5 separate regions of the Homo sapiens genome follow, and all the other regions are linked to region 4. Evidence: promoter capture Hi-C in 16 types of primary human blood cells and fetal thymus (Javierre and others, 2016). All regions are on one chromosome and are shown on one strand. Each heading gives the region's core, a stretch centred on a gene start or on the middle of the fragment in contact. The rest is flanking DNA. Distances are from core to core; before and after follow the strand shown. Region 1 overlaps CCDC83 (coiled-coil domain containing 83). Region 2 overlaps CCDC83 (coiled-coil domain containing 83). Region 3 has its middle 68 kb from the start of CCDC83. Region 4 holds the start of CCDC89 (coiled-coil domain containing 89). Region 5 overlaps CCDC83 (coiled-coil domain containing 83).

Region 1 (4,761 bases), core at 486-2,985, 220 kb after region 4:
CCCAACCTGTGATTCAATGCCATCTATAAAACAAAGCTCACTGCCTTTTGAGAGAACGCACTTCAGCTACATGCAGTTCTTGTTAATGAGTTATTTTTATATGATTCTCAAATGTACATCTTCAGCACAAACTGATGTGTGTCCTCGTCTCTGGAACTACATTTTTTTTCCCTGCCAAATATTTTCACGTGGATGTCCCAAAGGCATTTCAAATTCAATGTACCTAAAGCAGGACTCATTAAGTTTCTCTTCAAAAATTTTCTCCTCCATTTCCTTTTTACCATCTGCCCAGACACTCAAGATAAAAATGTCACCGTCAGCTTCTACTCTTTCCTTTTTCTTGCTCCCTATTTGACTGAGTATAGTGAGTCTAGGAAACAAGGAATTTAAACATTCATATGGCTTCTATGATAACTGACAATTATCTTTAAATTGTCATTATTAAGTCATGGTGAATAGGAGTTCATACTATCTCCCCAAACTAACTAGGATGAATTCACAATTTTTAAAAAGGTATTAACAATTTTTAAGGCTGGGCATGTTGTTGGCTCATGCCTGTAATCCCAGCACTTTGGGAGGCTGAGGCAGGCAAATCACCTCAGGTCAAGAATTCGAGACCAGCCTGGCCAACATGGTAAAACCTCATCTCTACTAAAAATACAAAAATTAGCCAGGCGTGGGCCAGGCGCAGTGGCTCACACCTGTAATCTCAGCACTTTGGGAGGCTGAGGTGAGAGGATCACCTGAAGTCAAGAGTTCGAGACCAGCCTTACCAACATGGAGAAACCCCGTCTCTACTAAAAATACAAAATTAGCCGGGCGTGATGGTGCATGCCTGTAATCCCAGCTACTCGGGAGGCTGAGGCAGGAGAATTGCTTGAACCCAGGAGGCAAAGTTTGCAGTGAGCCGAGATTGCGCCATTGCACTCCAGCCTGGGCAACAAGAGTGAAACTCCGCCTCAAAAAAAAAAAAAAAAAATTAGCCAGGCGTGGTGGCATGCATCTGTAATCCCAGCTACATGGGAGGCTGAGGTAGGAGAATTGCTTGAACCCGGGAGGTGGAGGTTGCAGTGAGCAGAGATTGTGCTACTTTACTCCAGCCTGGGCAACAAGAGCCAGACTCAGACTCAAAAAAATAAAAAAAAAAAAGGTATTAACAATTTTAAAACCTCAAGGTGAGCTCAACAGTTAAAGAATATTAGGGAGGGCCAGGCGCAGTGGCTCATGCCTGTAATCCCAGCACTTTGGGAGGCCGAGGCAGGTGGATCACGAGGTCAGAAGATCGAGACCATCCTGGCTAACACGGTGAAACCCCGTCTCTATTAAAAACACAAAAAATTAGCCAGGCATGGTGGCGGGCTCCTGTAGTCCCAGCTACTCAGTAGGCTGAGGCAGGAGAATGTCGTGATCCCGGGAGGTGGAGCTTGCAGTGAGCTGAGATCCTGCCACTGCACTCCAGCCTGGGCGACAAGAGCATGACTCCGTCTCAAAAAAAAAAAAAAAAAAAAAAGAGTATTAGGGAGAAACTTACTTCTTATACATTTATTAAATACAAAGTATGATCCTAATCAAATAACTTAACAATTCTCTCTTTTTTTTTTTGAGACGGAGCCTCACTCTGTTGCCCAGGCTTGAGTGAAATGGCACAACCTTGGCTCACTGAAACCTCCACCTCCCAGGTTCAAGCGATTCTCCTGCCTCAGCCTCCCAAGTAGCTGGGATTACAGCTGCCCACCACCACACCTGGCTAATTTTTCTATTTTTTAGTAGAGGTGAGGTTTCATCATGTTGGTCAGGCTAGTCTCAAAGTCCCGACCTCAGGTGATCCACCAGCCTTAGCCTCCCCAAATGGTGGGATTACAGAAGTGAGCCACCTTGCCCAGCCTCAATTCACTTAATCTCATGAGATGTCATAAATCTTAGGTTTAGGGAAAATGACTACAAAAAATTTGCATTTGACTAATAAGAAGGGCTGTTTTCATGACTTGACTCTTCCTACTGAAGCCAGAAATTATGTTTCTGCTTCTCACAGTTCAATGGAAATAAATGACAGAAAAAAAAGTCTAAGTTTAATGGCATCAGGAACAAAAAGAGCTTTATAATAAAGAACAAATCACCTGGGCATGGTGGCTCCCACCTATACTACCAGCACTTCGGGAGCCAAAGGCAGGAGGATTGCTTGAGCCTAGGAGTTTGAGACAAACCTGGGCAATATAGTGAGACCACATCTCTACAAAAAAAAAATTTTTTTAAAGTAGCCAGGCATTGTGGCACACATCTGTGGTCCCAGCTACTTATGAGGCCGAGATAGGAGCATCACTTGAGCCTGGAAGGTTGAGGCTGTAGTAAGCCATGTTCAGGCCGTTATACTCCAGCCTGGGTGACAGAATGAGATCCTGTCTCAAAAAATTAAATTAAATTAAATTAAATTAAATTAAATAAATAACAAATCATTTTATGGAAATGTAATAGATTTAATTTCTCTTTGTTTTAATAAATATTCATTTTTAACATTATTAAGTTTACTTGCAAAAGTAATTAAAACTATTTCTGGTACCATCACAAGAATTGAAAATTGCCTGGAAATAGAACAATATATGTTAATTAATTTCTTTGGTGAAAGTTTAGAATGAGTAACAAAGGATATTTAATAATGGAACTAATGAAAATATTTCTCCATTTATCTCTCAGCAATAACCAAAAATATAAATCACTGGGAAGGCTACACAGCTGTTTTGTTACATGATTATCTTTTTTTGTTGTTGTTTTAATTTATAACTATTTTCTTTTTTTCATGTATTAGTTGTTATAAGTAACACTGCATGATTTCAATTATCTGGTTTTATTTAGCATGCTTATTAGAAAATGAAGGAAACTGGAATTTCCAAATGATTGAGATTAACAAATGGAAAGCTGGAGAAACTAGACAAAGGGAATCAAGGAAATTACCATCAGGATTTCAAGTATGAGGAGACATAAGGCTAACTTGGATCTTTCAGGAGAAAATTTCAAGAACATATATTTTAATCAGGATCCTAGGTCCCCAACTTAACGTTTTAACTAAATTATCTCTCCCAGTTTCTATGTATATTTCTTGGGCATTTTGCTGGGGGGCAGCTGAGGCAGGGAGGGAAATGTGGTCTTCCACTTCTTCCTCCTTTTTACTTTCTGACCCCAGAAATCCAAAGGTGTTTGTAGGGTTATGAAAAAGAAGTAGTTTTTATTCCCTAACATTTCAAAAGGCCGAGGGAGATAGCTATTGAGGAGCACATTACTATTCTAAAGGGATACGTGATGTCATAGGAGAGCCTTAGCCTCTAAGAGTGGATGCAACATCTCAAAAGGGCCCCCATTCCCAGCTTTCGAAAGAGACCAAGAACTGTGTGTGCTACCTCCCAAGCATGCCAGGCCCTTAGGTCAAACATCTCCCAAATGTTGCATTAATTCCTTCTGTTTACAGTGTCTAACTATAGTTTTTTTTCCTCATCCTTTGACATTTGAAAATCATAAATTTTCCTTAAGGCATTCAAGCTTGTAATCAAAATAATTATCTCTCAACATATGAGATCCTAAAACACCAAACCCTAGCTTTGTAATTTAGTAATCTGGACTTAAACGGTTTTACTAAATTGTTTGAGGCAGATAAATAATATATGCCTTTCTTTCTAACTTCAAGCCACCAGCAATATTTGAGCCTTTTCCATGGGACTGGTATTGCTTTATATTATAATTATTTGTGGTTTTAATCATTGGATTATAAGCTCTCTTGAGGGAAGGAGCCATGCCTTATTCACCCTTGCATCCTTCTACATCTAGCTCTGAACCTTGCCCATAATAAGAATTTATGGCTGGGCACCGTGGCTCACACCTATAATCCCAGGTGTGATGATGAAACCCCGTCTCTACTAAAGATGCAAAAAAAATAGCTGGGCATGGTGGCGGGCGCCCGTGGAAGGCACCCGTGGAGGCTGAGGCAGGAGAATCGCTTGAACCTGGGAGGTGGAGGCTGTGGTCAGCCAAGATCACGCCACTGCATTCCAACCTGGGCAACACAGCATAGACTAGATGATTAGATAGATAGATAGATAGATAGATAGATAGATAGATAGATAGATAGATAGATAGATAGACAGATAGAATTCATGGCCGGGTGGCTCATGCCTGTAATCCCAGCACTTCGGGAGGCCGAAGCAAGCAGCTTGCTTGAAGCCCAGGAGTTTGAGACCAACCTGACCAACATGATGAAACCCCGACTCTACAAAAAAAATACCAAAAAAAAAAAAAAAGATTAGCCAAGTGTTCTACTACTGCAGTTTCGCTACTCAGGAGGCTGAGGTGGAAGGATCACCTGAGCCTCAGGAGGTTGAAGCTAAAGTGAAGCTGAGATGGTACCACTGCACTCCAGTCTGGGTGACAGAGCAAGCCCTGTCTCATGTTTTTGGTTTTTTTGGTTTTTTGTTTGTTTGTTTTGAGACAGGGTCTCGCTCTGTCACCTGGGCTGAAGTGTCATGGTGCAGTCATAGCTCACTGTAACATTGAACTTCTGGGCTCAAGCAATCCTCCCGCCTCAGTCTCTCAAGTAGTGGGGACTACAGGTGCACACCACTACGCCCAGCTAATTTTTTATTTTTATTTTTGGTTTTTGTGTTATTTGCTAAGAATTCCTGCATTTAAGAAATGATCATGTGATAGAGATATGCATGTGGTAACATATTGAATGCTTTAAGATTCCTAAATACAATTAAATCTCAGTGACAAAGC
Region 2 (5,148 bases), core at 1,610-4,109, 180 kb after region 4:
CCTCACCTGGCCAAGAAGGATTTTAGATTTTAAAATCTAAAAGAAGGATTTATTTTAAAAAATGTACCATAAAAGATGTATGTTGTCCTTAACAACATTCAGGGAAAATCTGTCTCCTTCTTTGGAGATCCCAATATATTCGTATGAACTTTTTAGGATTGAGTGAAGGGATCAGAACACCAAGAGAGAAGAGGCTTTCACCTGTTTCCTTTTATTTTCTACTTGAAATAACATTAACTAATAACTAGATACTATTCATACTCATTTCTCAACATAACTGAAAACTTTGTTCATCTCATCTTAGGAGAGGTGGACAAAAAGCCAAGCTCTGTGAATGTAACCTGGTCTCTAATTTGCTCCCATGGTGTAACTGGTGACATCCAGTTAACAGCTGTTTTTCTCTCTTTTGGGTGGACCAGAAACCAGTCTTTCTCCTCTTTAACAAAGGTTTACAAAAAGGCAAACGTTTAAAAATTCTCATGATCTAGTGCAAGTTATAAACTGAACATCTCATACCCTTGTTCTTTTGTATTTGGTAAAACTAAATAAATAATCTCATGGACTGGAACAGCCAAGGCCTTGCTGTACCATGCTCTACTGATGACAGTTTATGCATTCCATGTGTTCCTCGGTGACAGAACTGTTGTCACATGACACATAGCCAAGACATTTCCTCTCACCATCTGAGGAAGGATTGTCCAGGAGTTCCCTGGCGCCTCTTATATCTCTCTCAGCTCCTAACAAAGCAGTGAGCACATAGTAGATAGTTAATTCATGGTTTTTGAGCAACTGAACTTTTTTCAAATTTATCCCAAGAAAAGAAAGTCATGAACTTCTATGGTTGTTTGTGAAGAGCTGATACTACCAATGTTCAGTCTATAAAATTATCGTCTCTGAATAATGATGGTTTTTATTTTCTCCTTTATACTTGTCTTGCCCCCCGTTTTCTACAATAAGTATGGATATAGATATAGAAACGGGTGAGAATATGGTCGTGAGTGAAAAAATGGAGATTATGATATAGATTTTTTTGAAAGTCAAGTTTATTTGGATCAGTGATTTGTTTGTTTTTGAGACAAGAGTCTCACTCTGTCACCCAGGCTGGAGTGCAGTGGCATGATCTCGGCTCACTACAACCCCCGCCTCCTGGATTCAAGCAATTCTCCCACCTCAGCCTCCCCAGTAGCTGGAATTACAGGCATGTGCCACCACACCCAGCTAATTTTTTGTGTTTTTAGTAGAGATGGGGTTTTGCCATGTTGGCCAGGCTGGTCTTGAACTCCTGATCTTGGCCTCCTGCCTTGGCCTCCCAAAGTGCTGGGAGCCTCCCAAAGTGCTGGGATTACAGGTGTTAGCCATGTTTGTTTATTTTTATAGAGACAGGGTCTCCCTATGTTGACCAGGCTGGTCTCAAACTCCTGGGCTCAAGGGATCAGCCCACCTCAACCTCCTGAAATGTTAGGATTACAGGCGTGAGCCACTGCGCCCAGCCCAGATTTGTGTTTTTATATGAATAAGGCAGTTAGAATATTTGAGGTGAAGGAAAAAATATGGCAGGTCATGTGTGCTTCATTCTCCCTCAACAAACTGTGAGCTCCTTGAAGACTATTCTTTACTCATCTCTGTACCTCTAGTATCTAGCACAGCCTTATAGTATGAGCTCAGAGTTTCTTTGTTGAGTAAATGTTGTCGGATCTTGTCTGAAAGCAAAATCACACTCATGAAAACAAATACAATGTTATTTTTGCCTGTTGATACAGGAAACAAATTTTTTAACGTACTAACACTCAGTGATGAAATGCCCACCAATAAACAAGCTCTTTCTTACCCACTGGTGAGTATAAATTGTTCAAATATTCTGAAAACATTTGTAACAAAGCAATCCTGCCCTTTTATCAGGTAATTTCATGGATATAGGAACTCTTTCCCGGAACATAAGGTCATGAACTTCTATGGTTGTTTGTGAAGAACTGATACTAAATCTATAAACCAATACTAAATCTATAAAGTGATCATCTCTAAGTAACGGTAGTTTTTATTTTCTCCTTTATACTTGTTGTCTCCCAGTTTTCTACAATGAATATGGATAGAGATATAAAAACATGTGGGTATGGTTATAGGTTTAAAGAAAAAAACACAAAAATATAGTTTTTTTGGAATTCAAATTTATTTGTTTTCCTTCCCAGAATTTTCAATGAAATTGCATGGGTGGGGGGAACATTGACACATTACTAACATTTTAACAATATAGAGAGTGGGGGAAAGGTGACATATTGTCTTACTAACAATTTAATATCACTGTGCTTTAGAATAGTGCCATAACCTTTTCAAACTGCTTTAATGTATATTGCTTTATTATCACCCCACTTGCTTCAGCACCTAGTGTGACATGTCAGATTCTAGGGCACTGAGTAGATGGGGGAGATATTAAAAAGGAAAAAAGTGTATAAGGAACAATGATGCTTGAAGTCCCCATAATAGTGTTGAGTTCTGAAGTTAAGCTTCATCTGCTTCCTGGTAAAACACACCTTTTCATGAAGCCAGAGAAGGCTGAAGTGGCTTTCAAAGACAGGCTCAGCTAAATTAGACCCACAGCTACCATAAGCTCCACAAGCGGGCCAGTGAAGCTGCCAAAGCATTTAGGGCATCTCAGAATTCCCCACTGAGGCCTGCTGCTGCCACTCACATCATCCTGAACTGCTCACTCCACAAATGGACAAGAGACAAAGCCTGAGGCCATTTGCTCCTAAATGCTCTGAGGGAGGGGTGGTGGGCTTAAGTGTGGGGATGCCAGTTGTAGCAAATAGAAATAAACGATGCCCAATTAAATATGAGTTTCAGATAAACAGCAAATAATTTGCTTAGTATAAATATGACCCATGCAATGGGGCTGGGGCTGCACATGGTCTCCAGCCCAATCGTTGCATGCTCAGTCATCACCAAGGAAAGCTCTCAGCTGCAGCCAGGGAATTGGTCTATTAACGAGCCCATCTGTAGACTCAGTTTAACCAATGAAGACCACATCTTGAGATTCATTTGCCTGCTCTACCCATGTAAAGAAGTAGTATTAATAGATTTATAACTGCAGAAATTATGTCAGTAATTTGCACATTTGCATAGGTTCTTTTCAGATAATTTTCATTTATAATACTTTTTTTTTAATCTCCTGAAAAACGGGAGGTAGAAAAGGCACTCCTTCAAAATTTTTGCACAAATGTAAGCTTTAGGTAAGAAGTCAAAGATGAGCCAAGTGTCGTGGTGCACATCTGTAACCCCAGCTACTTGGGAGGCTGAGGCTGGAGGATTCCTTGAGCCCAGGAGTTCAAGCCCAGCCTGGGCAGCACAGAGCCTTATTTTCTTATTATTTTGTGGAGGCTGCCCTATCTACTATAGTAGTCCCCTCCATTTATGGTCCTTCTTATATCCTGTTATTTTCCCCATGGTATTTATCATAATGTGTAAACAATATGTTTCAATATGTTTATGTGTTTACTTCTTATTATCCAGTAAAAGGTACTCCTTGAAGGCAAGGATCATGAAGGTGTTGTTCAAAATTATCTCTGTAGGCCAGGCGCAGTGGCTCATGCCTATAATCCTAGCACTTCGGGAGGCTGAGGCAGGTGGATCACTTGAGACCAGGATTTCAAGACCAGCCTGGCCAACATGGTGAAACCTCGTCTCTGCAAAAAATTCAAAAATTAGCTGGGTGTGGTGGCGTGTGCCTGTAATCCCAGTTACTGGGGAGGCTGAGGTGGGACAAGCGCTTGAACCTGGGAGGGGGAGTTTGCAGTGAGCCGAGATCATGCTGCTGCACTCCAGCCTAGGTGACAGAGCAAGACTCTATTTCAAAAAAACAAACAAACAAACAAACAATCTCTATAATGCCTAAAACAATGCTGGGCACCTTTCAGCTCTTTAAATCTACATTGTATGTATGACTGTTTGAAAGGGAATATTGGTCCATTTAAATTGCAGAATTTTGTAACTGAAAAGGAAGCATAGAGTTCATCTCCATCAATCCTCTTATTTCTGGAGGTTAAATATCCTTAGAGAACTGGAAAACCAGCTCTAAAATTCAAGTTTCATAGTATCCAAACGAGCTTTTTTTTGACCAGTAAAGGATTTTTTTTTAATGTTGCATTTTCTCATTATTGGGAAAGAAAGAGCCTAGTTTTTCTCTCTAATGAGTATACAATGTCACAAATATAATTGATGTTTGGGGGAAAGGGCTAAGGATATAAGGTTTAATTCAACTGAAATTTACTAAGCATTTATTTTATGCTAGAAACATTCACATATGATTTCTTATTTTAATCCTTACGATAATATGCAGAGCTAGGTATTTTTATCCCATTTGACTGCTTGGACATTTAGGCCCAGGGAATTGACTTGCCTGAGATCATGTAGACAAGAAGTGATAAGGGCAAGACTTAAAACCAGAGTTTCTCATTCTTTAACTACTCTTCACTCTACTACAGAGGTACTATATTTCTGTTTTTGTTTTATTTTGTTTTTAATTGAGCCAAAGGGTTTAGGTAACACACTTCTGTTGCCTTATTTTGGTCTCAGATTTAAAGTTATAAGATTTATTAGGTTATAGTGATACAAGATATACTATAAAGTTTTAAAAATTATTTTATTTATTTACTTTAAGACTGCATCTCACTCTGTCACCCAGGCTGGAGTGCAGTGGCATGATCTTGGTTTGCTGCAACCTCCGCCTCCTGGGTTCAAGCGATTCTCATGCCTCAGCCTCCCGAGTAGCTAGAACTACAGGCATTCACCTCCACACCTGGCTAATTTTTGTATTTCTAGTAGGGACAGGGTTTTGCCATGTTGGCCAGCCTGGTCTGGAACTCCTGTCCTCAAGAGATCCACCTGCTGGCCGGGCACGGTGGCTCACACCTGTAACCCCAGCACTTTGAGAGCCCGAAGCGGGCAGATCACTTGAGGTCAGGAGTTTGAGACCAGCCTGGCCAACATGGTGAAACTCCGTCTCTACAAAAAATAGAAAAATTAGCCGGGTGTGGGGGCAGGCGCCTATAATCCCAGTTACTCGGGAGGCTGAGGCAGGACAATCGCTTGAACCCAGGAGGCAGAGGTTGCAGTCAGCCGAGAACATGCAACTGCACTCCAGCCTGGGCGACA
Region 3 (5,152 bases), core at 2,312-4,811, 240 kb after region 4:
GGCCTCTCCTGTACTTTAATCTCCATTGTGTTCGGTGCTTTCCTGGACCCTTCCCATTCTCTCCCAAAACTTCCAACAACAACCTCTAAAAAAACAATAAACAAGACAAATGCCACTGTTGAAGGTGTAAATGTCCAAGGGGTTCACCTTGCCTGCTGCCTATACAGAGCCAATTCCTCAAGACAGGGGAGCCGGGCATGGTGGCTCACCCCTGTAATCCCAGCATTTTGGGAGGCCGAGGCGGGTAGATCACAAGGTCAGCAGATCAAGACCATCCTGTCAAGACCATCCTGGCTAACACGGTGAAACCCCTTCTCTACTAAAATTACAAAAAAATTAGCCAGGTGTGGTGGCAGGCGCCTGTAGTCCCAGCTACTTGGGAGGCTGAGGCAGGAGAATGGAGTGAACCCGGGAGGCGGAGGTTGCAGTGAGCCGAGATCGCACCACTGCACTCCAGCCTGGGCAACACAGCAAGACTCCGCCTCAAAAAAAAAAAAAAAAAAAAAAAAAAGAGGGGAATTGCAACAGACAAAAGAGTAATTCACACAGAGCCAGCTGTGCGGGAGACCAGCGTTGTTTTATTACTCAAATCATTCTCCCTTAGCATTCGGGGAGCAGAGTTTTTAAGGACAACATGGTAGATGTGGGGAAGCCAGTGAGCCGGGACTGCTGATTGGTCAGAGATGAAATCATAGGGAGCCAAAGCTGTCCTCCTGACCAAATCAGTTCCTAGATGGGGGGGCCACAAGATCAGATGAGCCAGTTTATCAATCTAGGTAGTGCCAGCTGATTCATGATGTGCAGGGTCTGCAAAATATCTCAAGCACTGATCTTAGGAGCAGTTTAGAGACAGTCAGAATCTTGTAGCCTCCAGCTGCATGACTCCCAAACCATAATTTCTAATCTTGTGGCTAATGTTAGTCCTACAAATGCAATCTACTCCCTAGGCAAGAAGGAAGACTGCTTTGGGAAAGGGCTGTTATCATCTTTGTTTTAAACTGTATACTAAGTTTTTCCCAAAGTTAGTTGACCCTCCGCCCAAGAATGAAAAGGACAGTTTGGAGATTAGAAGCAAGATGGAGTCAATTAAATTAGATCTCTTTCGCCGTCTTGGTCATAATTTTGCAAAGGCAGTTTCAAAGGTGTCTTTTCTTTTTGAGACAGGGTCTCACTGTCATCTAGGCTGGAGTGCAGCAGCATGATCATGGCTCACTGCAGCCTTAGCCTGCCAGGCTCAAGGGATCCTCTCACCTCACCCTCCCAAATAGCTGAGATCACAGAAGCACACCACCATGCCCAGCTAATTTTTTATTTTTTGTAGAGATGGTGTGGGGCGGCGGGGGGGGGGGAGGTCTTACCATGTGACCTAGGCTGGTCTTAAACTCCTGAGCTCAAGTGGTCTTCTTGGCTCAACTTCTCAAAGTGCTAGGATTATAGATGTGAACCGCCATGCCCAGCCTGTTGAAGGTTTCTTTTACTCTCTGGTTTTGACTGGCACCTGGCTTTCCCCAGAAAGAGCTCACTTCCCCTGTGGCTCTCTCTCTAGTGGTTGGTATTGATTCTTCTCTGCCACCACCTTCTGTGGGGCTACATGCTTTCACTAATGCAATGCCTCTTCTAGACCACAATTCCACCAGTCTCATGTAAAAACATGCCTTTTGAAGCTCAGTATATATATCACCCTCTACTACTATTCTTTGCTATAAATTTCTAACCCTTCTCATCACTCTTCTCCATAATCTTTAATTTGGCACCTGGTTCACAGGCCTCTTTTCCACTCTACTCCATTCCCTAACAGATCCATCTATTGAGATACCTATTAGTCATTCATGAGTATAAAATTGTTGCATGTATGTGTGCTTCTGTTTGACCATCCCAGATCCACTCTCTACCCTTATCTCTGTGTCTCAAAGGGTGACCTTTATGGACTGCGTCAATGTCCTTTGCTTCTAACCTTCTACTGAGTTTGTTTAATAGGAGTTTCTAGCAGGAGATCAAAGAAAGTGAGAAGGGTGAGATTTCTTCCCCCAGCTCTTTCTCTAACAGGTCATGTAGATTAGCAGGGTTCCTCTATCAAAGGCCACTATTCCTGTTGGAAGGCTCACCTAACAAAGGTTGAGCATCCCTAATGTGAAAATCCAAAATCCAAAATGTTCCAAAATCTGAAACATTCTAAGCACTGACACAATGCTACAAGTGGAAAATTCCACACCTGACCTCATGTGATGGGTTGCAGTAAAAACTTTGTTTCATACACAAAAAAAAATTTTAAATAGTATATAAACTTACCTTCAGGTTATGTGTATATGGTGTATCTGAAATATAAATGAAGTTTGCGTTTGGACTTGGGTCTACCCCCAAGATATCTTATTACGTATATGCAAATATTCCAAAATCCTAAAAAATCTGAAATCTGAAACACTTCTGGTCCCAATCATCTCAGACGAGAAATACTGAATCAGTATAGCTACTCTCTAGGTCTGGTAAGTACTCCCTCCCTCTCCCCCTTTAGACCCAGGAGTGGAACAGTTCCCATCTGTTGATAGCCCCAGGGAGTGTTACCATTCCTGTTGGTTTTCCTTGATGCTGCCCACACCTTTGTATATATTGCCTTTGTTAAATTTTCTCCAGGTATCCTGTTTGAATGTGCCCTTTGTTTCCTGCTAGGAAAGGTAAAGGCTGGAGATTCAGATCTGGGAATCAACAGCCCAGGACTGAATTTAAAGCCATGAAAGCTTAAATGACATAACCTAGGGACTGAGTTTCAATAGAGAAAAGAGACATGGATGCACCTGGAATAATTCATTCTGTAGATGTGGGCCCTGAAACTAAAAGGTATCACTCTCAAGAGATTTCAGAGCAGAGGTGGACTGAATCTAAGTAAAACGGCAAACTAGCCCTGACCCAGTTCAACTCTATTTTTTTTCTTCGCTCTCCTCTCTTTCCTTTCCCTCTCCCTCCTCACTCACCACCTACACACGGCACCCACTCCTCACCAGAGCCTCTCGATTCCCCCAGCTCAATTCTTGATTCCTTTGAGGTGATTTTCTCCTCACCTAATATAACTAACAGAGGATAGATTCTTTTTTCTCTGGGGAACAAAGAATACCAACCCAGACACTATACTCCTTGTATTCACAATGTTGAGCATACAAAACTTTATACGTGTGTGTGTGTGTGCACGCGCGTGTACAGTGCAAAGAAGCAGGAAAATAAGACTAAGAATCAGGAGGAAAAGCAAACAATTAAAGCATGCCCACCAATGACCCAGATATTCAAGTCAGTAGGCTAGGACTTTAAGAATATTATTATATGGTGGCTGGCAATATGGCCGAATAGGAACAGCCCTGGTCTGCAGCTCCCAGTGAGATCAACACAGAAAGTGAGTGATTTCTGCATTTCCACCTGAGGTACCCAGCTCATCTCACTGGAACTGGTTAGACAGTGGGTGCAGCCCACGGAGGACGAGCTGAAGCAATGTAGGGCGTCGCCTCACTCGGGAAGCACAAGGGGTCAGGGAAGCCGTGAGGGACTGTGCCATGAGGAATGGTGCATTCTGGCACAGATACTATGCTTTTCTCACGGTCTTCACAACCTGCAGACCAGGAGATTCTCTCAGATGCCTACACCACCAGGGCCCTGGGTTTCAAGCACAAAACTGGATGGCCATTTGGGTAGACACCGAGCTAGCTGCAGGAGTTTTTTTTCATACCCCAGTGGTGCCTGGAATGCCAGCAAGACAGAAACTTTCACTCCCCTGGAAAGGGGGCTGAAGCCAGGGAGCCAAGTGGTCTAGCTCAGCAGATTCCATCCCCATGGAGCCCAGCAAGCTGATATCGACTGGCTTGAAATTCTTGCTGCCAGCACAGCAGTCTGAAGTCAACCTGGGATGCTGGAGCTTGGTGAGGGGAGGGGCATCTGCCATTACTGAGGCTTGAGTAGGAGGTTTTCCCCTCACAGTGTAAACAAAGCCACTGGGAAGTTCGAAGTGGGCAGAGCCCATCACAGCTCAGCAAAGCCCCTGTAGCCAGACTGCCTCTCTAGATTCCTTCTCTCTGGGCAGGGCATCCCTGAAAGAAAGGCAGCAGCCAGCAGCCCCAGTCAGGGGATTATAGAAAAAAGTCCCATCTCCCTGTGATAGAGCACCTGGGAGAAGGGGCGGCTGTGGGCACAGCTTCAGCAGACTTAAACATTCCTGCCTGCCAGCTCTGAAGGGACCAGCAGATCTCCCAGCAAAGCACTTGTGCTCTGCTAAGGGACAGACTGCCTCCTCAAGTGAGTTCCTTAACCCCGTGCCTCCTGACTGGGAGACACCTCCCAGCAGGAATCAACAGATACCTCATACAGGAGAGCTCTGGCTGGCATCTGACGGGCGCCTCTCTGGGATGAAGCTTCCAGAGGAAGGAAGAGGCAGCAATCTTTGCTGCTCTGCAGCCTCCACTGGTGATACCCAGGCAAACAGGATCTGGAGTAGACCTCCAGCAAACTCCAGCAGACCTGCAGCAGAGGGGCCTGACTGTTAGAAGGAAAACTAACAAACAGAAAGGAATAGCATCAACATCAACAAAAAGGACGTCCACACAAAAACCCCATCTGAAGGTCACCAACATCAAAGACCAAAGGTAGATAAATCCATGAAAAGGAGGAAAAACCATCACGAAAAGGCTGAAAATTCCAAAAATCAGAGTGCCTCTTCTCCAAAGGATCACAACTCCTCGCCTGCAAGAGAACAAAACTGGACAGAGAATTGAGTTTGACGAATTGACAGAAGTAGACTTCAGAAGGTGGGTAATAACAAACTCCTTTGAGCTAAAGGAGCATGTTCCAACCCAATGCAAGGAAGCTAAGAACCTTGAAAAAAGGTTAGAAGAATTGCTAACTAGAATAACCAGTTTAGAGAAGGACATAAATGACCTGATGGAGCTGAAAAACACAGCATGAGAACTTTGTGACGCATACACAAGTATCAATAGCCGAATCAATCAAGCAGAAGAAACAATATCAGAGACTGAAGATCAACTTCATGAAATAAAGCAAGAAGACAAGATTAGAGAAAAAAAGAATGAAAAGGAATGAACAAAGGCTCCAAGAAATATGGGACTATATGAAAGTGACGGGGAGAATGGAACCAAGTTGGAAAACACTCTGCAGG
Region 4 (4,738 bases), core at 18-2,517:
TCATCTTTACTCTTGCCATAATGCTAAGACGCAAATATTTGAATTCTGAATTGCAGGCCAGAGGAAGCAGAAACTTCCCTATGGAGAGAGATGGCGGAGTTTGCCATTGAGTTCTCTCTCCTTGCTTAAAAGATCCAAGCTGTGCTTTTTGAAGGCTTCAGACTGCAGCCTGAGTTCATCGTAGGCCTTCTGGATCCCATCTACTTTGCGCTGAAGCTCCCTGACTCTCAAGTTGCTGTCCACAGCCACTGCCTCTTGCTCAAACCGCTCCAGCGCATGCTTCCTGTCTTCATTTGCTATCTCCAACTTTTCCTCAAGCTGGCAGATCTCTGCCTGTTTGTTCTGAAGCACTTTGCCCCTTTCAATGGACAGCTGCAGCAACTCCTCTTTCTCTCTAGTGACGGTCTGCAGCCTGGCCTGCAGCTCCTGGCTCAGGCTGCTGTGTGTCTCCTCTGCCTTAGCTATCTGCTCCACAGCCTGCTGGTGCTGCTGCTTGAGGGTCTGCAGCTGGCTGCGCAGCTGTTCTGTCTCCTTGGTGTGGGTGCAGGCCTGCTGGCTCTGTAGCTCCAGCAGCTCCTTCTCGCGCGCCTGTGCCTGGCAGGCATCCTGAGCACACCTCTCCTTCAGCGTTTCTAGCTCCCCAGTGAGGGCCTCACACCGGACTGTGAGCTGTAATACTTTCGCCTCCTCATCCTTCAGAGCCTGGCTGAAGAGGCTGCTATTCTCCAGCCTCAGCTTCTCATTCTCCTCCCTCAGCTTGATGTTCTCACTCTTGTATTCATCCTTGAAGCGGAGCATCAACTCGTGGTTGGCTGCTAGGGTCATAAAGCGTTCCTCTAGTTTCCGACTGTACTCACCCTGGGCCTTGAGCTTCTCAGCCTCCTGCATCATCTTCTCCTCCAGCTCTGCATTGAGCAGCTCTAGGATCTGGCAGCGCTCCAGGGCCTCATCTGACCTCCGCTTCAGGATGCAGATGAGCTGGGACTGCTCTTCAATGCGGGAGCGAAGCATAGCCTTCTCGCTCCTCTCCTCCTCTGACAGTCCCCGGAGGTTTGCCAAGGCTTCCCTCAGACCGTCCAGTTCCTTAAACTCCGTCTCCTCTTCCTGGTTGTTCAGTTTTTCATTTTGCTTCTCTAAGCGTTCTTCAGGGGGCGGGGTGTCCATCCTGGGAGCCTGCTGTTTCTGGAGCATAGGCGCTCTCATCCACTAAGGGCTGACTACAGTCTTTTCCCCTCAGATTTCAAACGCTGCAGGGTGTTGCTAGGGACTCTTGGCACTCCCCAGCAGTTGGTTTTTCCAGTAAGGAGCCCTGTAATTGGTGGACAGGTCTTCAGAATGCTATGAAGTAACAACAGGGGAATCTGGGGGAGTCCAGAGCCAATCTGGTCGGGTTACTTTTGCCTTTCTAACCAATCACAGCTCTCAGTTGTCAACTGTCTCAGTGTCTGGCCTGTACAGCACAGAGATGCCAACCCCACTCAATCTCCAGCCAGCATCAGGGGAGGAAGCCTGACTCCACCTAATTTCTGGTAGTAGTAAACAAATGAAGCAGGCAATGATATATTTATCCTCCCTCTCCCCTCTTCAGTTATCGTTTGAATAAATTACTGTTTGTGGAAACATGGTTGGCTCCTCAAAAAATTTCAGTCTATGAATACAAAGTAGTAGTGGTATTCTGAGAGCCAGGACCCTAAAAGCCTGCATATCTGCACCCGTGATGTTTGGCACAGCTCCCTTTTGGTATTTAAGTATTAAAATAGAAAACACCAGTGAAATTTCTTTTGTTGTTCTTAGCATTGTCCCCACCTGGGCATAAATACTCTTTATTAGATATTTAACACCCCCTGTTTTTACCCATTAGCAAAATAAGGTTACAGAAAGAAGCTTAGTGAACCACACAGATAAACATTAAAACAGAAAAAATAAGATTCAAATGAAGCTTGCCATTATATGCCAAAGTCAACTCCTGATAGATTAGTTAAATGTAAACAGAAACTAGAAGAAAATGAAGGTAAACATCAAATCTCTGGGGCTAGGAAGGATTTTTTTTTTATCTTAAACATTATGTAAGATCAGAAAGGGAAAGCTTACTCAAAAAGTTATGTATAATTTTTTAAATTATGTGACTTCTGAGGTCTCTCCAGCCCCTTCTTCCACTGGATTTTCTTGACATTTTACTCCTCAAACCCAAATATTGAAGCCAAACCCAAATCCACTAACCAGCTCTCTCGCCCTATCTTTAGGTGTTCCTCTACTTGGAATGCCTTTCCTACTTTGTCCCTTGTCACTCTAGTAAAGCTTTTTATTCTTAGTTAAGAATCGTCTCTGAAGCCTATTCCTGGCCCCTACATGTCCAATTGGTCACTCACATCTTTTAGTGCATCCGCTATAGCTATTTGTACTTCTGGTGGAGGATGTGAAAATTTTATTGCAGTCACTGTTTATCTGCCAGCTTCCCTCTGTTAGACTGTAAGATCCTTAAGGGCAGGGACTGTGTCTATTTCATCCTTGATGATTAGACTAGTGCCTGGCACATGGGGGAGATTCAGATAAATGTGTATTAAGTGGATGTTGAAGGTAAAAATCAAATTGAGAAAAATATCCCTAATATGACAGACACTACTTTTTTTTTTTTTTTTTTTTTTTTTTTGAGACAGAGTCTCCCTCCATCGCCCAGGCTGGAGTGCAGTGGTACGATCTCGATTCACTGCAACCTCCGCCTCCCGGGCTCAAGCAATTCTCCTGCCTCAGTCTCCTGAGTAGCTGGGATTACAATTACATACAACCACACCTGGCTAATTTTTGTATTTTTAGTAGAGACGGAGTTTAACCATGTTGGTCAAGCTGGTCTTGAACTCCTGACCTTAAATGATCCACCCGCCTCAGCCTCCCAAAGTGCTGAGATTACAGGCATGAGCCATCGCACCCAGCCCAGACACTACCTTTTTTAAATAAATATTTTATACATATCAACGAAACATTAACATCTAAAAAATAAACAATTAAATTCACAAAAATGGCCAAGAACTGAACGTCTACAGTGATCCAATAAATACAAGTTAAAATTAGACATAATTTCGGCCGGGTGTGGTGGCTCACGCCTGTAATCCCAGCACTTTGGGAGGCCGAGGCAGGCGGATCACGAGGTCAGGACATTGAGACCATCCTGGCTAACACGGTGAAACTCCGTCTCTACCAAAAAAATACAAAAAATTAGCCAGGCGTGGTGGCAGGCGCCTGTAGTCCCAGCTACTCAGGAGGCTGAGGCAGGACAATGGCGTGAACCCGGGAGGCGGAGCTTGCAGTGAGCCGAGATCGCGCCACTGCACTCCAGCCTGGGCAACAAAGCGAGACTCCGTCTCAAAAAAAAAAAAAAAAAAAAAAAGATATAATTTCACGTATCAAATTAGTCAAAAAATTTTCTCTTAAGACAAGCCAGGACTAGAAAGGAGTATTGAAATAGGCACTCTCTTAAACTGTTGGTGAAAGTCAGTTGACAGTAGGTACTGAGAAATTAAGATATTTTTATGGCTTCCGAACTAGTAATTCTTCTGCGGAGATCTTTGCTTAGGAAATAATCTGAAAGAAAACATTTTGCTCAAAACTTTTCATTGTAGTGTGGTTTGTAACAACTAAAAGTTGGAAACCCAAGTTTTCAAAAAAAAAAGGGAATGGTTACAAAAATTATGATATATTCATACAAAAAATATTGTACAGCCACTAGAACTTATTACATTTATAGGTAATTTTTAATAGCATGGAAAAGTCTTATGTTAGAAATACAACTGAAAAAGGCAAAATACAAAACTTAAAATTCAGATGATTTCAATCCTGTGAAAATTAAGGGTAGGGAAAAGAGTTGACTATTCTTGTGGTCACAGTTTCTGGTGATCAGATTTACTATCTCCCAAGTCATGATGATAAGGAAAAACCCTGGGTGTCATTATAGATATGAGATGAATTTTTAAATGCTTCAGATTTCACTGGGAGCGAAACAAATCTGAAAGAAGAGTTTCAGGTTCTTCCCTCACTGTCAAAGATCAAGGTCTCATGTTTCAAATCCTGAATTTCTTGTCTATATATGGAAACCAAGATTGAAGACTGGGGAAATTTCCTAAGCTGAAATTTTAACAACTACATAAACAGTAGGATATTGAAGTTTTGTGAAAGTGAATTCCAAAGACTTTAAAAATGTGAATTAAACTTATTTGTAATTTTCCCACATTTCTCTTGTCCTTTTCCTTAAATTTCAAGCTTCATATGCGTAAATGGAGTTCGTCTAGTTATTTTCAAGGCAAATGACTAGAAAATTAGAATGGTCCTCTTAAATAAAAGGGTCTTACAAACATTGAAAATTTTATTTGTTGATTATATGGTTGTCTGATATCATAAAGTGAATTCACAAAATATATTTCCTGAAAGGAGGAAAAGAATTCAGAAAAATACGGAAAAAAGATACATACACATTTGTTTTTTTACCAGTCAGGGTCTCTGTTGCCCAAGCTGGAGTGCAGTAGTGTCATCATAGCTCACTGCAGTCTTGAATTCCTGGGCTCAAGCAATCTTCCTGCCTCAGCCTCCCAAGCAGCTAGGACTACAGGCATGTACCACCATGTTCAGCTAAATTTTCCACATTTGAAAAAGCTTATATTTCTTTTTTGCAAATATATTTTAATACACATTTCTATTAAATTTATATTTACATTATTTAAAATAACACACATCTATAGATTACTTA
Region 5 (4,654 bases), core at 1,038-3,537, 200 kb after region 4:
GGCAGTGTGCAGAAGCCCTGTGACCAAGTGACTTTAAGAAAGACGCTTCTGGCTGGATGCGGTGGCTCATGCCTGTAATCTCAACAGCCTGAGGCTGGAGGATCGCTTGAGCCAAGAAGTTTGAGACCAGCCTGGGCAACACAGTGAGACCATATCTCTACAAAAAATTAAAAAATCAGTTGGGCATGGTGGCTCATGCCTGTAGCCCCAGCTACTTGAGAGGCTGAGGTGGGAGGATCAGTTGAGCCCCGTGGTCAAGGCTGCAGGGAGCTGTGATTGTGCCACTGCATTCCAGCCTGGGTGACAGAGCAGACCTTGTCTCAAAAAAAAGAAGAAAGAATCTTCATTCAATGGATGGGGTCTGTATGTTTCCACACTGGGACAGAAGCAATTCCACCAAGATAGGAGTGTCCTGAGGCCAGGTTATATTAGAAAGAGAATTCACCTGGGGCAAGCTAAGTCAGCTTAGCCAGGCTGGATAGCCAGAATCATCATGGAGAAACGTCAAAGTCAATTAAGTTGTAACCAGGGAAAAACTGGGGAACAAACATGAGATGAGAAGTGGAGAGGCTATAGAGTAGGATGCCGTCAGGAGCAATGAAGCTTACCAGGACTAGATCTGGACACGATGAGGGCCAGCTGTCTGTTACTGAGGCAAGCATAGCAGCTTAAAAGAACACCAGAGACCCAGACACAGAAGAATCATAGGACAGAATTAATGGGGGAAATCTGGCCCAAAAGAGTTGCTGTGGGTGGACAACAGTCCAGGACTCAGCTGGAGATAGTGCCCTGCGTTGTGGAGGGGTTCCTGTGGGTGGTTCCCATGTCCCCCTATCAGGGCTCTCTGCTTGTGGACCAATTTGTATGTAAGTTTCTCAGCTTAGGGCCTCTGCACCACAGTGGTGGTGTAAACTTGGCCCCATATCAGTCTGGGCATGAAGTTCCAATTTGTCAAAAGGTTCTTCTTCTGAAAAGAGAACAAGAGTGCCAGCCTGCTACTCCCTCTGTCCGCACTCAAATCCTCTCCCACTACTACCAGTTTCTTATTTAGCAGTCAGAAATATTCTATGCATATATATATATATATATCACAAATAGCATGCTATAAATATGATGTCTTACTTGCTTTTCATGTAACAACATGAACATCCTTCTAAATCAGTATATCTTAATACTGCCTCATTCTTCCAGTGGTTGCATGGTTTTATTGTACCTTTTTTTTTTTTTTTTTCGAGACACGGTCTCACTCTGTCACCCAAGATGAAGTGCAATTGCATGAACACAGCTCACTGCAGCCTCAACCTCCCAGGCTCAAACAATCCTCCCATCTCAGTCTCCTGAGTAGCTGGGACAGCAGGTATGTGCCACCATACCTAGCTAATTTTATTTATTTTTTGTAGAGGTCTCACTGTGTTTCCCAGGCTGGTAACCATAATTTTTTGACCAGTTTCTTACACATAAGCATTAAGGTTGTTTCTAGTGTTTTAGTATTACAAATAATGCTGCAATGACTATCCTTACACATGTCTCATTTTCCTATGACAAATATTCTTGTATTTATGTCATTTCACTTATGTGTATCTCTGAAAGAAATGGTTGTGTGAAACAGACTATTTTACTGTGATAAATGTGGCCCTCCATAAAGGTTGTACCAAGTGGTACTTCTAACAGTATGCATGAGGATACCTATTTTCCCACATCTTCAGCAACAGGGGGTGGTATCCAAATTTTTGTTCTTTGTCAGTCTTATGGGTCGAAAATGGTATCTCATTGTAGTTTTAATTTCCATTTCTTTTATTAAAAGTGACACTGAATGTGTCTTTTCATAACTTCAAGAGCTATATGAATTTCCTTTTCCATAAACCATCTGTTCATATCTGTCACCCATTTTTCTAATGTGTTGTGGCACTCTTTACATTTTAAAAAAATTAGCTCTTTAACTGTGATATAAATTGCAAATATTTTTCCCATTTGTCATTAGTTTTTTTGTTTGTGGGTTTTTTAATGAAGAAATGATGTGCTTTTAAAGTGCCCAACTTATCAGTCTTTGATTTTACGTTTATGAGATTATGAATGAATTCTCCAATATTTTATTCTAAAATTTTTATGGTTTTGTTTTTATATTTAAGTCTTTGTTTTTGTGTGAGAGAGTGATCCAACTTTATTTTTTTACCAAATGGTTTTCCAGTTGTTCCAACATCATTTATCATCAATTTTTATCCTACTGATTTGAAGTGCTAACTTTATTATACTTTTATTTCTCATATATATCTGAATCTTATTCTCTACTATCTATTCTGATTCACTGATCTGCCTATGCATTTGTTAACCAGTAGAATACTTTTTAAAAAGTTATTGTTCTGGTACATTTTCAAAATTTCAAATATTTTAGCCAGTATTTATTTCACATTTTTAAAGTAGGAAAAGTGATCTTCTCATATAAACTTAACCCATTATCTTGATCAGAAGTTTGGATGATTGGGCCAGGCGTGGTGTCTCACGCCTGTAATACCAGCATTTTGGGGGGTCCACGGTGGATGGGTCACCTGAGCTCAGGGGTTCGAGACAAGCCTGAGCAACAGGGTGAAACCCCATCTCTACCAAAAATACAAAAGTTAGCTGGGTGTGGTGCCGCACACCTGCAGTTCCAGCTCCTGTGAGGCTTAGGTGGGAGGACGACCTGAGCCTAGTAGGCAGAGGTTGCAGTGAGCTAAGATTGCACCACTGCACTGTAGTCTAGGTGACAGAGAGAGACCTTGTCTTAAATTAATGAATTATTAACTAGGATGATTTCTTTGACTTAAAAATTTTCATGTGGTTGTATTCAACTTTGGGGTGGTAAAAACATTTATATATTGAATTACTTGCTGGTCAAGCCATGGGGCGCAGCCATAAGAAAATGGTTGTTATGGGCTTGTGTTATTTTCCATTAGTTTTAGGGACTTGTCTTAACCATCCAGGTAGCAGCAGCCACTCCACCAGGGGAACTATTAGAACATGTTGGGGACCACTAACTGGACACAATGAATATGAGCAAGACTCCTAAATCAATCTATCTGAAGGCTTACTACCATCATCCCCTCTTTTTCTCCTACCTTCTACACAGGCTGCCTTCTTTCATGATTTTCCTGGAATTCTCCTCCAATGATTATGGGGTTTGCGTTAGTTAGGCTGCTTTACATGCAAGGAAGAGAGATCAAGTCAGGCTATTGTTGTGGGCTGGGAGGTTGCTGTAAGTGAAAGAGGATATTAAAACTTTTTAAAGTCTCAGTTTACGCTGAGGTGGCAAAATGAGATGAGATACCACCACATAGATTTGCAATTTGATGAAGAAGAAAACCAGTTTCGCACCTTTGATCATCGAATTCCAGTCTATACAAGAAGTTAGAGAGGCCAGGAAAAGGTTGTTAGAAATTAGGGGACAACTTTTGGAAAGAGCTTTTGGTGTGCTATCAGTCCTACTCTTTCCCCCACCGAGGAGCAGGTAAAAGGTAATTCCTCCTCCATCTCAAATCTGGGTGAAAGGTCTTCAGAGAGATTTCTCAGATGGTTCAGTATGTGTCCCCTGCAGTCTGGGCATTCAGGTCTAGTTTATGACTCATCCCTGAGAAATCTAGGGAGTAAGTGGCTGAGGAGCTAACCGCACTGACAGCAGAACACAGAAGAGGTGGCTGCTGCCCTGGGCTGGGCCTGCACTCCCGAGTTTGTCAGGGCAAAGAATGGAGGAGTGTTTCTTGTCAACTTGTTATGAGAGAGAGTTGGGGAACAGTCATGTGAAATCTTGCTGGAGACAGCTGACTAGGGTGTTGGGGGCCGGTGATAGGTCCCCAACAGAAAAACAGGGATTTTGTATGTGTGGGAGGGGAGTGCAGAATTGAAAACCAGGGACCAACAGAAAAGTTGTTACCAACTTCTAAGGACAGTACTTGCCCTGGATCAAGGGAATGCAGATGAAATCCCATTTGAAATGGGGAAGCTTGTCCTCCAAAGAACCTACTAAAACACTCCCATGAGACAATGTGTCAGCCTTAAATGCCAGCTAGGTCCAGAAAGTAGACATGAGCTTGAGACAGTATCAGTCAAGTGAGAGCTTTCTTACCGTTTTCCATGTTTCCCTCTTCCCTTCAGCACTGAGAGAGGAATCATGGAAGCTCAAGGCAAAGAAAATGGCAGCAGGCCCAAGTTAGGAAAGGGGATTGGCATAACTTTGAAAGAAGTTTAAATTGTTGCAATATTCTGAACATACTAATTACTCATTGGAGGACCTTTTGTTACCACAAAGAAACCAGAAGTCATAGGATTTACCATATATTTTATTGAGCAGAAGTCAATAGCCTCACAGTATGAGTTTTAAAGGAAAGAGACAAAAATTAAGTTGCTTGACTCCCCAAGAGTAATGCTTGTTGGGTGTAACACAAATGAGGAAAGGGAAGACTGAAGACAGAATGATATCAGCGGTGGTTCTAGGCATGGCTCCTCCCCACATTTCTCTCCCCTGATCTGTGACTGTCCCTCTCATTGGCACCTCTGCTTTGCTCTGCATACCTGTCCCCCTTCTCTTCTACTTCCCACAGAACAGTCCTTGCAGTATTCTCCAGCCCATTTCTAAAGACATCTGGTGCCATCATGCACCTTATCAAACATGACCAATGGC

Evidence for each region. The method cuts DNA at HindIII sites, captures the fragments that hold promoters and counts their contacts. A CHiCAGO score of 5 or more calls a contact.
Region 1: a contact is called between a fragment that was not itself captured here and the fragment with the promoter of CCDC89 in region 4, in 4 of 17 cell types (naive CD8 T cells, naive CD4 T cells, total CD8 T cells and 1 more). The highest score is 7.0, in naive CD8 T cells.
Region 2: a fragment that was not itself captured here is called in contact with the fragment with the promoter of CCDC89 in region 4 in 6 of 17 cell types (naive CD4 T cells, total CD8 T cells, naive CD8 T cells and 3 more); the score reaches 13.7 in naive CD4 T cells.
Region 3: a fragment that was not itself captured here is called in contact with the fragment with the promoter of CCDC89 in region 4 in 1 of 17 cell types (naive CD8 T cells); the score reaches 5.1 in naive CD8 T cells.
Region 5: a fragment that was not itself captured here is called in contact with the fragment with the promoter of CCDC89 in region 4 in 2 of 17 cell types (naive CD4 T cells and total CD8 T cells); the score reaches 6.6 in naive CD4 T cells.

Annotation. Positions count from the first base shown.
Region 1 is chr11:85,904,482-85,909,242 of GRCh38, forward strand. All of the region lies in intron 7 of CCDC83 (coiled-coil domain containing 83), which reads left to right. Among named protein-coding and RNA genes, the nearest start is that of CCDC83, 51 kb to the left of the region's middle. The HindIII fragment of the contact is 3,588 bases long and covers 1-3,529 here.
Region 2 is chr11:85,867,320-85,872,467 of GRCh38, forward strand. All of the region lies in intron 2 of CCDC83 (coiled-coil domain containing 83), which reads left to right. Among named protein-coding and RNA genes, the nearest start is that of CCDC83, 15 kb to the left of the region's middle. The HindIII fragment of the contact is 720 bases long and covers 2,500-3,219 here.
Region 3 is chr11:85,921,017-85,926,168 of GRCh38, forward strand. No RefSeq gene overlaps it. Among named protein-coding and RNA genes, the nearest start is that of CCDC83, 68 kb to the left of the region's middle. The HindIII fragment of the contact is 1,656 bases long and covers 2,734-4,389 here.
Region 4 is chr11:85,684,928-85,689,665 of GRCh38, forward strand. It overlaps CCDC89 (coiled-coil domain containing 89), which reads right to left and starts at 1,268. Exons shown (of 1, transcript NM_152723.3): 1 at 1-1,268. The coding sequence starts at 1,203. The coding sequence ends at 79. RefSeq lists enhancers at 63-564, 565-1,064. The HindIII fragment of the contact is 2,434 bases long and covers 1-1,882 here.
Region 5 is chr11:85,886,589-85,891,242 of GRCh38, forward strand. The region is part of intron 5 of CCDC83 (coiled-coil domain containing 83); the gene reads left to right. Among named protein-coding and RNA genes, the nearest start is that of CCDC83, 34 kb to the left of the region's middle. The HindIII fragment of the contact is 3,373 bases long and covers 602-3,974 here.